Linked DNA regions of Homo sapiens: region 1 is linked to region 2. Evidence: promoter capture Hi-C in 16 types of primary human blood cells and fetal thymus (Javierre and others, 2016). All regions are on one chromosome and are shown on one strand. The core of a region is centred on a gene start or on the middle of the fragment in contact, and the rest is flanking DNA. Distances in the headings are between cores, read along the strand shown.

Evidence for each region. The method cuts DNA at HindIII sites, captures the fragments that hold promoters and counts their contacts. A CHiCAGO score of 5 or more calls a contact.
Region 1: a fragment that was not itself captured here is called in contact with the fragment with the promoter of MGP in region 2 in 1 of 17 cell types (total CD8 T cells); the score reaches 7.9 in total CD8 T cells.

Annotation. Positions count from the first base shown.
Region 1 is chr12:14,975,747-14,980,320 of GRCh38, reverse strand. It overlaps PDE6H (phosphodiesterase 6H), which reads right to left. Exons shown (of 4, transcript NM_006205.3): 2 at 2,175-2,349; 3 at 1,102-1,142. The coding sequence starts at 2,308. Among named protein-coding and RNA genes, the nearest start is that of PDE6H, 5.0 kb to the right of the region's middle. The HindIII fragment of the contact is 187 bases long and covers 2,714-2,900 here.
Region 2 is chr12:14,884,200-14,888,364 of GRCh38, reverse strand. MGP (matrix Gla protein) reads left to right here and starts at 2,511. Exons shown (of 4, transcript NM_000900.5): 1 at 2,511-2,634; 2 at 4,120-4,152. The coding sequence starts at 2,574. The HindIII fragment of the contact is 4,253 bases long and covers 1-3,224 here.

The DNA of each region.
Region 1 (4,574 bases), core at 1,558-4,057, 92 kb before region 2:
AAAAATGAGCTATCAAGCCACATAAAAACATGGAGAAACCTTAAATGAATATGGTTAAATGAAAGAAGCTAGTCCAGAAAAGCTGTATACTGTATGAGTCTAACTATATGACATTCTGGAAAAGGCAAAACTATAGAGACAGTAAGAACATTAGTGGATGTCTGGGGTTTAGAGAGAGAGAGAAGGATGACCGGGTGGAGCATAGGGCAGCGAAACTATTCTGTATGATACTATATGTACTGCAATATGTACTATAATGGTGGGTACATGGTATTTATCAAAACCCTTAGAACTTTACAACACAAGGGATAAAAACTCTAATTCAAGCTATGGAGTTTAATTAACATACTGCATCGACATTGGCTCATCAAATATAATCACACTAATACAAGATGTTAATAATAGAGGAAACTGTGTAAAAGGGGAGAGAGATGGTAGAGAGGACATATAGGAACTCTACTTTCTGCTGAACTTTTCTGTAAGTCTTAAACTCCTCTAAGAAATAAAGTCTATTAATTTAAAAAATATGCAGTGATTGCATTCATTGTATGATACATAAAAATCTGGTAACCAATTTTTAAAATTATATTGCAGGCATTCAGTATGTAAGATCCTCCTCTGGGTGCTAGAGGATGTGTAAAAAGAGGAAATTGGTAAGGAAGTGGTTTGCCAGGTAGAGTGGAGAGATCTCCAGACCTCACCCTTATTTCCAATAGTTCACTTGGTAGCCTCAGACAAAAGACTGCCAATTCCTGTATGTCTCAGATTTCTCCCTTGAAAAATGAAGTTTGGGGAGATGAATTATGAAAATCTTTCTACCATAAAAGTCTATAATTTATCATTGTATGCCCTCAAAGGTTGTTTGACAAAACAAGAAGGTTTATGAAATTTTGGGCCTACCCTGATTTCTTTTAGGGCTTTTGTATCTGGGCACACATGTACTTATTTCGAGGGTAAATTAAATCCCCACATTTCTATGTCTTCACAGATCTTCTGCCTTGGGTATTTCTCATAACTTTCAACTGCCCCTTGAGGCCTGAAGTATATAAAAAGGCAGAACTCCAAGTGCGAAGTTCTCACTTAAATCAGTGGATGGCTTACCTGTTCCTAGCCCCTCCATTCCTGGAATGTCATCTCCAAATCTATGGAAAAGAATAAAGGAGAAATTAGCTGAGATTAGAGCAAAAGAATTTTGGAGTCACTCACATGGAGAGTTTCTTGATTCAAGGGGGAAGAAGGAGAGGTTTAAGTGTTTGTATGTGAGAAACTCCTTTAGTTTGCCCTGAACTGGAGCAAAGAAAATGTCACTCAGGCAGGTTTTGGTGTATCCCACTGGAGAGATATTTCTCTCCTGTAGGAACTTAACCTAAAACAATTAAGAGTCAGAAAGAACCATCAGTGGGACAACTTAGTCAAGTTTCACTTTTTATAATAAAAATTGAAATGAGAAAGCAATACAAAAGGCATTAAAAATGATGAATTCATCCATTTGTTTACTTATTCAAAATCATTAACTAAGCATCTATTATATACCAGGCATTTTATTAAGCACAGAGAGTTAAGAAGAAAACAGACAAATTTTCTGAGTGGTCTTAGCCTCGGAGAATAGATACAAATAAATAAATATAAGATATAATGTAAGTTATGATAGCTGAATGTACAAAATGCAAACATGAAAGTAATGATAGTTTGTTAAAGAGAGTCAGGAGTAGCTTCAAAAAGAAATTAGCATATGATCTGTGTGTTGAAAAATCAATAGGATTTTGCCAAGGAGAGGAAGAGGAAAATAAAGAACTGAGGATACAAAATTGGAAGACATAAATATAAGCTATATTTTCTGGAAATGGTCAGTGGTTCAGTGTTACAGATTAACGTAGAGGTTGTCTCAGTAAAGAGGAGTGGTCATCAAAAGCCTGCAAGGCAAAGTCAAAGTTTATTGTAAAAAGCCTCTATTTGCCATGTTAAATTCGGCCACAGACCTGGAAGTTGAGAAGGAAAGAATTCCAGGGATAAAGACACAATTCATCAAAGATGGAGTTACAGAGGAAAAGAGAGGATGGAGTGGAAATTTTTGTAAGTCTGTTTAATATTGTGAGCACCAATTTCCCAAAACAAAAGCAGTCTTGTGGGAAAAAGAAAGTAATAGAAAGTTTTTCTTTTCATTTTGGTCTTACCCTTTCACACCTTTCTTTGGAGGTTTACTCTTGAATTGGCGAGTCTGCCTCTGCTTGAACTTGGGAGGGCCTTTGCGTGGGGTGGTAGGACCCTGGTTTGAAGCTGGAGCAGGCAGAGTAGTGTTGTCACTCATTTTAACTCCCCCCGGGCGGCTGATGTTTCCCTTTCAGCCTCCTTAGACAGTGAAAGATAAAAAAAAGAAGATCTTTCAAGTCATGGGGACCATTGGTTATTAGATCTTTATTTCAGGCTGGAGAAGAAAAGTACTTCAACAAGAAAGCTCAGTATTTTGTGTTGACACAAAAGGGGAGAAGTTATCATCTTTAAAAGGGATCTTTAAGAAAACAGAGTATAAATCAATGCAGGCACTTAATGGAATGGAATGGAAACTTACCTTCTGCTACATTACTTACACAATCTATCAGTTGTGTAAACGGACAATTGATAGATTTTAAAACTCAGAAATCTAGGTAGCTATGCTGTTCCCATGGATCTGCCACTGAAAACAATTTTTAAATAAATAAATTAAATTAAAGCTTCACATTAGGTATAACAAATTAAAATTTAAAAATAAATAAATAAAATAGATTTGCCACAAGCATTCTACGTGAATTTATTATGATGCTGTACTTCTCTGTGACTACCAGTTCTGTCAGTTACGAAGAGAGGAAAATGGACTCAGTGATATCTATAGTCTTTTACAGCATCTGCAATTTCTTTAAGCTTTACATATTCTTCCATCCAGCTGTAAAATAACCTGACTCTAAATGTTTATTGAGCATTTTTTATGGCCTCTGTTTTTTTATAGTCCTTCATGTCCTTATAGTTTAAGATAGGATTATTTTGTTTAATCCTCACATGAACCAGAAACTTCTCTCTTAGTTCTGGGAGATGACAGTGTAGTTGTCTGGACAGGAGGACCTCTGAAGCAGGAATACCAACACCCATGAATATATTCAACACATCTTAATACACACGCACATACAGAAGTTAATGAAGGATAATTAAGTAATACGTTTGTGCTTCAACTCTACGTCGAGACATAAGGTTCTTCAGCCCCCACTTTTCACAAATCTTCAATGCCTTCTTCTATCCACACCACGGACCTATCCAATATGGTGTTCTCAGACTTTAATTTGGCTACAGAAATGCACATTGCCATTCTTCAAATACAAATCAAAGAAAATTATTGAAAAAGATAAATTTAAGCAATTAATGTGTCATTTTGGATGACGTTATTTTCTTTCTTCCTTTCTTTCGTAAGAGTTAACAAAACTTGCTCTTGGAAGGAAGATCCTGAAAAGCCCCAGAGAACTCCAAATTGCTTTTGCCTCTTACCCTGAGACAGTCTCCTCTATAAAAACTAGTGTGTGGGGGCTTTGTCTCCATAAGATTCCTTATTTCACCCATTGCAGATTTATGCTAATATTCTTTTTTCTTTTTTTTTAAGAGAGACAAGTTCTTGCTCCATCAGCCAGGCTGTAGTGCAGTGGTGCAATTGCAATCATAGCTCACTACAGCCTCAAACTCCTGGGCTCAAGTGACCCTCCCGCCTCAGCCTCCCGAAGTGCTAGGTTTACAGGCATGACCCATCACACCAGCCTATGCTAATACTGTTAACTGCAAACCTCCCTGACAGTCTTTGGCTCGTGCTAACAATGACTCTCTTTACTGGCCACACTGCATATTCCTGAAACCTCATATTCTATAACTTCCAGTCCATACTGTTTTCTTATTTCCTTGACAATTGGGTTGCAATTATTATCCTCGCCTCCAAGATTTTTCTCTTATTTAAATTCTGATTATTACTAAATTATTACCCTTGCCAGTACCAGGGATGGTGAGATTGGCCAGGACCCTGGACCACCTGCTCATGCTGTGATTCCTTCCTTTATCCCCTACTGGACTAGCTTCATGAGGCTGTCCTTCCAGTCTCAGAACCTACAACAGTGCATGGTGTACAGTAATCATGCCATATATATTATATTTGTCAAATGAGTTAATAAATTAATTTAGAAATTGAACAGGCCAGGCACGGTGGCTCACGCCTGTAATCCCAGCACTTTGGGAGGCCGAGGCGGGCGGATCACGAGGTCAGGAGATCAAGACCATCCTGGCTAACACGGTGAAACCCCATCTCTACTAAAAATACAAAAGATTAGCCAGGTGTGGTGGCGGGCACCTGTAGTCCCAGCTACTTGGGAGGCTGAGGCAGGAGAATGGTGTGAACCCAGGAGGTGGAGTTTGCAGTGAGCTGAGATTGTGCCACTGCACTCCAGCCTGGGCGACAGGGCAAGACCCCGTCTCCAAAAAAAAAAAACAAAAAAAAAAAACAAAAGAAATTGAACAAATACTGTAAACCTTGGTCATGAGATCCTGACCCTTTGACTTCTCCATCA
Region 2 (4,165 bases), core at 1,262-3,761:
TTTTTCCTACTTCCATTCTTTTCTTCTGTCTTCTCTCAGATGAGTCAATCTTGGTCCTTTCTAATGCAAAGCTCCCATCCCTGCTTCATGCGTTAGTCCAAGTCCTCATCATAAAAACATATGACTGGAGTTGGCATTCACAAAGTTGTCTTTGAAATGGGGAGTAAGGTGACAGAGGAGAAAAAGAAGAGCTCTGGATTCTCAGACATGTTAATAATTTTTACATATCATATATAAATGGGATTTTGCAGAGAAGAACCAGAAATAGATGGGAGAGCAATGGACAGGAAAGGCAGATGAGGGACCGAAGAGACACAGCTCCCAAAAGAAAGTTAGCCTTACAAAAACCAAGACGATAAAGAGAAATGCTTAAGTTTAGGGAATCCAGTGGAAGCAGTGATTTAAGGTGAACAAAAGGTGAACCTTAAGTTGAAATGAGAAGTGTAGGATTTTCAAGTTTAGTTTCTGGGAGTGTAAAAATAAAAAAACAATTGTGATGTCAGAGGTTGAAAGATTATAGTTGTCATTTGAACTTGGGGATAAAGGAGACATCTATGACTTGGCTGGAAAAGACAGAGCTAATGTACATTGCAAAGCACATATTTATAGCAGGAAAATGGGAAGATTTCTCTTTAATTCTGGAGATGGAGTGGGGATGGGGAGAGTAGACTACTCATTTTAAGGGTGAAACATTGGAATTCAACTTGTTTGATGTTATATTAATTGGTGGTTAATTACTAAGCTAAGTACGTATAAAACTTTTATCTATGGCTAGCTTGTCCCCCCAAAGTCATGCAATATAGTGAACTGGCTTTCGCACTTTAAATTATTCATTGATCATGTAATGATTCAGATGATTCATCTTCCAAGATGGACACTGAAACTAACACTCATAGTAGGTTGTGGTTTAAAGAGTGGAACAACCGCCAGTCTCATTAGTGGAAATTGTGATGGTTGAATTTATCAAGGATGAACATACACGGTCTTCTTTCTGAGATTTTCTTTAAGATTTTCGCACAGATAATCTATTTCTTAGGTTTTGGAGAGAAAACTTGAATTTTATTGATCCCTCAGAACTCAATCTTTCAGATTTCAAAGGAGCTATTTCTTTTAATGGGGACTCTGTTAATATTTATAAAAGCTCTTCACAGGATGGAGGGTGGGAGGGAAACTCCATCCCAACAAGACAAAAAGAATGAAGCATGAGGCTCCACCTAGTTCATCACTGCTCCTTGAAATACATCAGTATTGAAAGACACATCCACCCCACCCCCAACCCAGCCCTATTGCTGTTCCAGCTCAAGAGTCAGAGGTCCCGAAGCTGTAGCTCTTCTACAATCTGCTGCTCTGTGACTTCAAGTCTGTTGTCTGCAAAGAAAACTATTGGGTTCCCAAGCAAGAGAGGCACATCTGGTAGGACAGATTTTGTGATTGCAAAAGAAGGGGGAAAAAAAGAAAGAAAGAAAAGACCTCTCTATACAAGATAACCAGAGGCATCAAACTGAAATCCTCCTGTGGAAAATAAGCTAGTACTTCTGGGCCTGATGGTGTAGTGAAAACCTGTGCTTGAGGATACATTACAGTGAAAGAGCAAAGTGAATAGTAAGTAGCTATTACTTACCTCCTTAGGGAGGTGTGTTGTTTGTCTGTACATCCCCCACAGCACCTAGCACAGTACCTTGCATCTCACCTGCCACTCACTAAAAAGTCTATCAAGTTAGTTAATTATCGAGACAACGCCCTCAGAAATGAGAGAACAGTACCCTCTTATCCTTGCTGCACTTTCCAGCACTGATACGCTGCCTAAAAGAGGACTAGGGCACAGGTTTGAATTAATGTCACAAAACTGGATGGGCAAGTTACAACGGTGTTGATTAAGGAAACAGAACTCATGGTGCACCGGATATCTCCATCCTGATGAACCCTTGGAAAAATGCCAAAGATGCATATCCCCAGGCAAATGCCTGATTAGTCTGGGATTGATAGATTGGTCTAGGATTCAGCCCTACTGGGAAGATGTCTAAATTATAATCAGTGTAGAAAGCGAAGTTCTCCTAGAAGAAGAGGCAAAGGTTAAAAAGAAGAAAAGAAAAGAAAGTGAAGTCCTTTCTCCCCCAAAACCTCTCATCAATCAATCAGGGTAACAAACAGAACACTAGGGCTCTGTCTGTGGACCAAACCCAAAAGCCCTGCGGTCAGGGCCAGGAGGGTAGATCATGTGTTTGTGGCAACTTCCTCTGTGGGCTTTTGCCCAGGTCTGTCCCCAAGCATACGATGGCCAAAACTTCTGCACCAGAGCAGCATCCTGTGTAACACAGTCAGGTCCAGCAGTTAGGGAAAACTGCCCACTCAGAGTAGATAATATCTGGAAGGAATGACTGTTTGGGAAAAGTTCCAATGCTAGTTCAGTGCCAACCCTTCCCCACCTTCTCCAGCTCTCTCCCACTGGTTCCTCCCCTCTCAACTGCTCTGGTTCTTATAAAAACCTCACAGCCTTCCACTAACATCCCGTAGGAGCCTCTCTCCCTACTGCTGCTACACAAGACCCTGAGACTGACCTGCAGGACGAAACCATGAAGAGCCTGATCCTTCTTGCCATCCTGGCCGCCTTAGCGGTAGTAACTTTGTGTTATGGTGAGAAACTTTTCTCCCATTTCTCTGTGTTTACTTTTCTGCCTCTGACTTTGGCTTACTTCTATTTTTCCTCTCCCTCCTCCTCTTCTTCCCCCTTTCTCTGTTATAATCTTAAAGTACCATTACTTTCACATTTCCCAGTCTCCGCAGAAACTGATCTGTTCTATTAAGTCTTTTTTATATCCTAAATATCCAGAGTCTTATGCAACTTAACAGGCAAACCCGTTCAGTGGTAAGTCTCTGTATATCTAGAAACTCATATTTCAGAAAGAAGATACCAAATTCCCAGCCCCCTGCATCCTCATTTTTAAGGATATTTATTTAGACTTTGGTATCAATGGGTTAAGGGTATTGTTTAAACCACTTGCCTTTGAGAAAATCCATTTTTATGTGAAGTATTAAGTATAGCCCTTTCTAGGGACTGGACAATCTCATGAACTTACTATGTTTGTTCAGTTAATTAATTTTAAAATAAAGTTTTACATCAAAAGAATTTTAGAAAAGAATCATTTTCATAACTCCTGTTGTCAGAAAATAAATTTTGCCTGTTTTCTATATGTCATTAAATATACCTGCATTTGTTCAAAGCTTATAAAAGGAAATCTGAAGCAAAGTTATTTACTTATTTCAGTCTTTTGTTTCAATTACCTAGATATTTTCATTGTTTTAAAATTTAAATTACATTAACAACCATAAAGATTATGCTTCTCACTCTTGTATTCACAAATTTTCTGTATTAGAGGATTTGATTTCTTCACCTCCTTTTTAAGTTTTGAAGAAAATTCACTTGCTGGCAAATATTAATAGAAGCTTCTTATTCCAAAATTTATCTGCTGTGCTCAGGAGAGTGGCAGAAAGAAGAAAACTTCGGCTTTGATATCGTTTCAGTTCTCTCTCTGAACTGGCATCGTGCCCAGGGTGAGCTGTCAGCTGGAGCTAGTGGTTTCTGTGGCTGCCAATTTAACACAGGTTCTTAAGAGGCTTTCGGAACCCTCTTAGAAACCTGCCCTAGTAAGCCCAGCAGAGCAACTGCCCTGTAGTTCTCTTGCCTGGAGAAACCTGGCTGTCTTCTGGATCCTTCTTAATCCTCTTTGACCCTGTTCTCAAACAGGCTCTGAATAAATCAGAGAAGAAGGTTCTCTGGAGACTTCTGTACAGCACTTAAAGTGTCTTATTTTGCTTGTCTGAAGACGTCATAGCCCTTGGGAAATTTTAGCTGAAAATGGCCACTCCCTCCTTCAACATCAGAGAAACTAAAATATAGAGATATCCACAGCAAGGCCAGAGCTAGAGAAAAACCTCATAAATCCTAAATTCCTGAAATTTCTAATAACCACACTGCTAAATATATTCTTCATGTTTTTAGACTCTTTCCTCTTCTTCCATCCCTGTATTTAAACTATCACAGTGTCTAAATTGATAAATAATAACATAATGAATCATGGATAAATATTGATATAATGAATCTTTTTTTTTTAATTTCAGAATCACATGAAAGCATGGAATCTTATGAACTTAGTAAGTGAATATT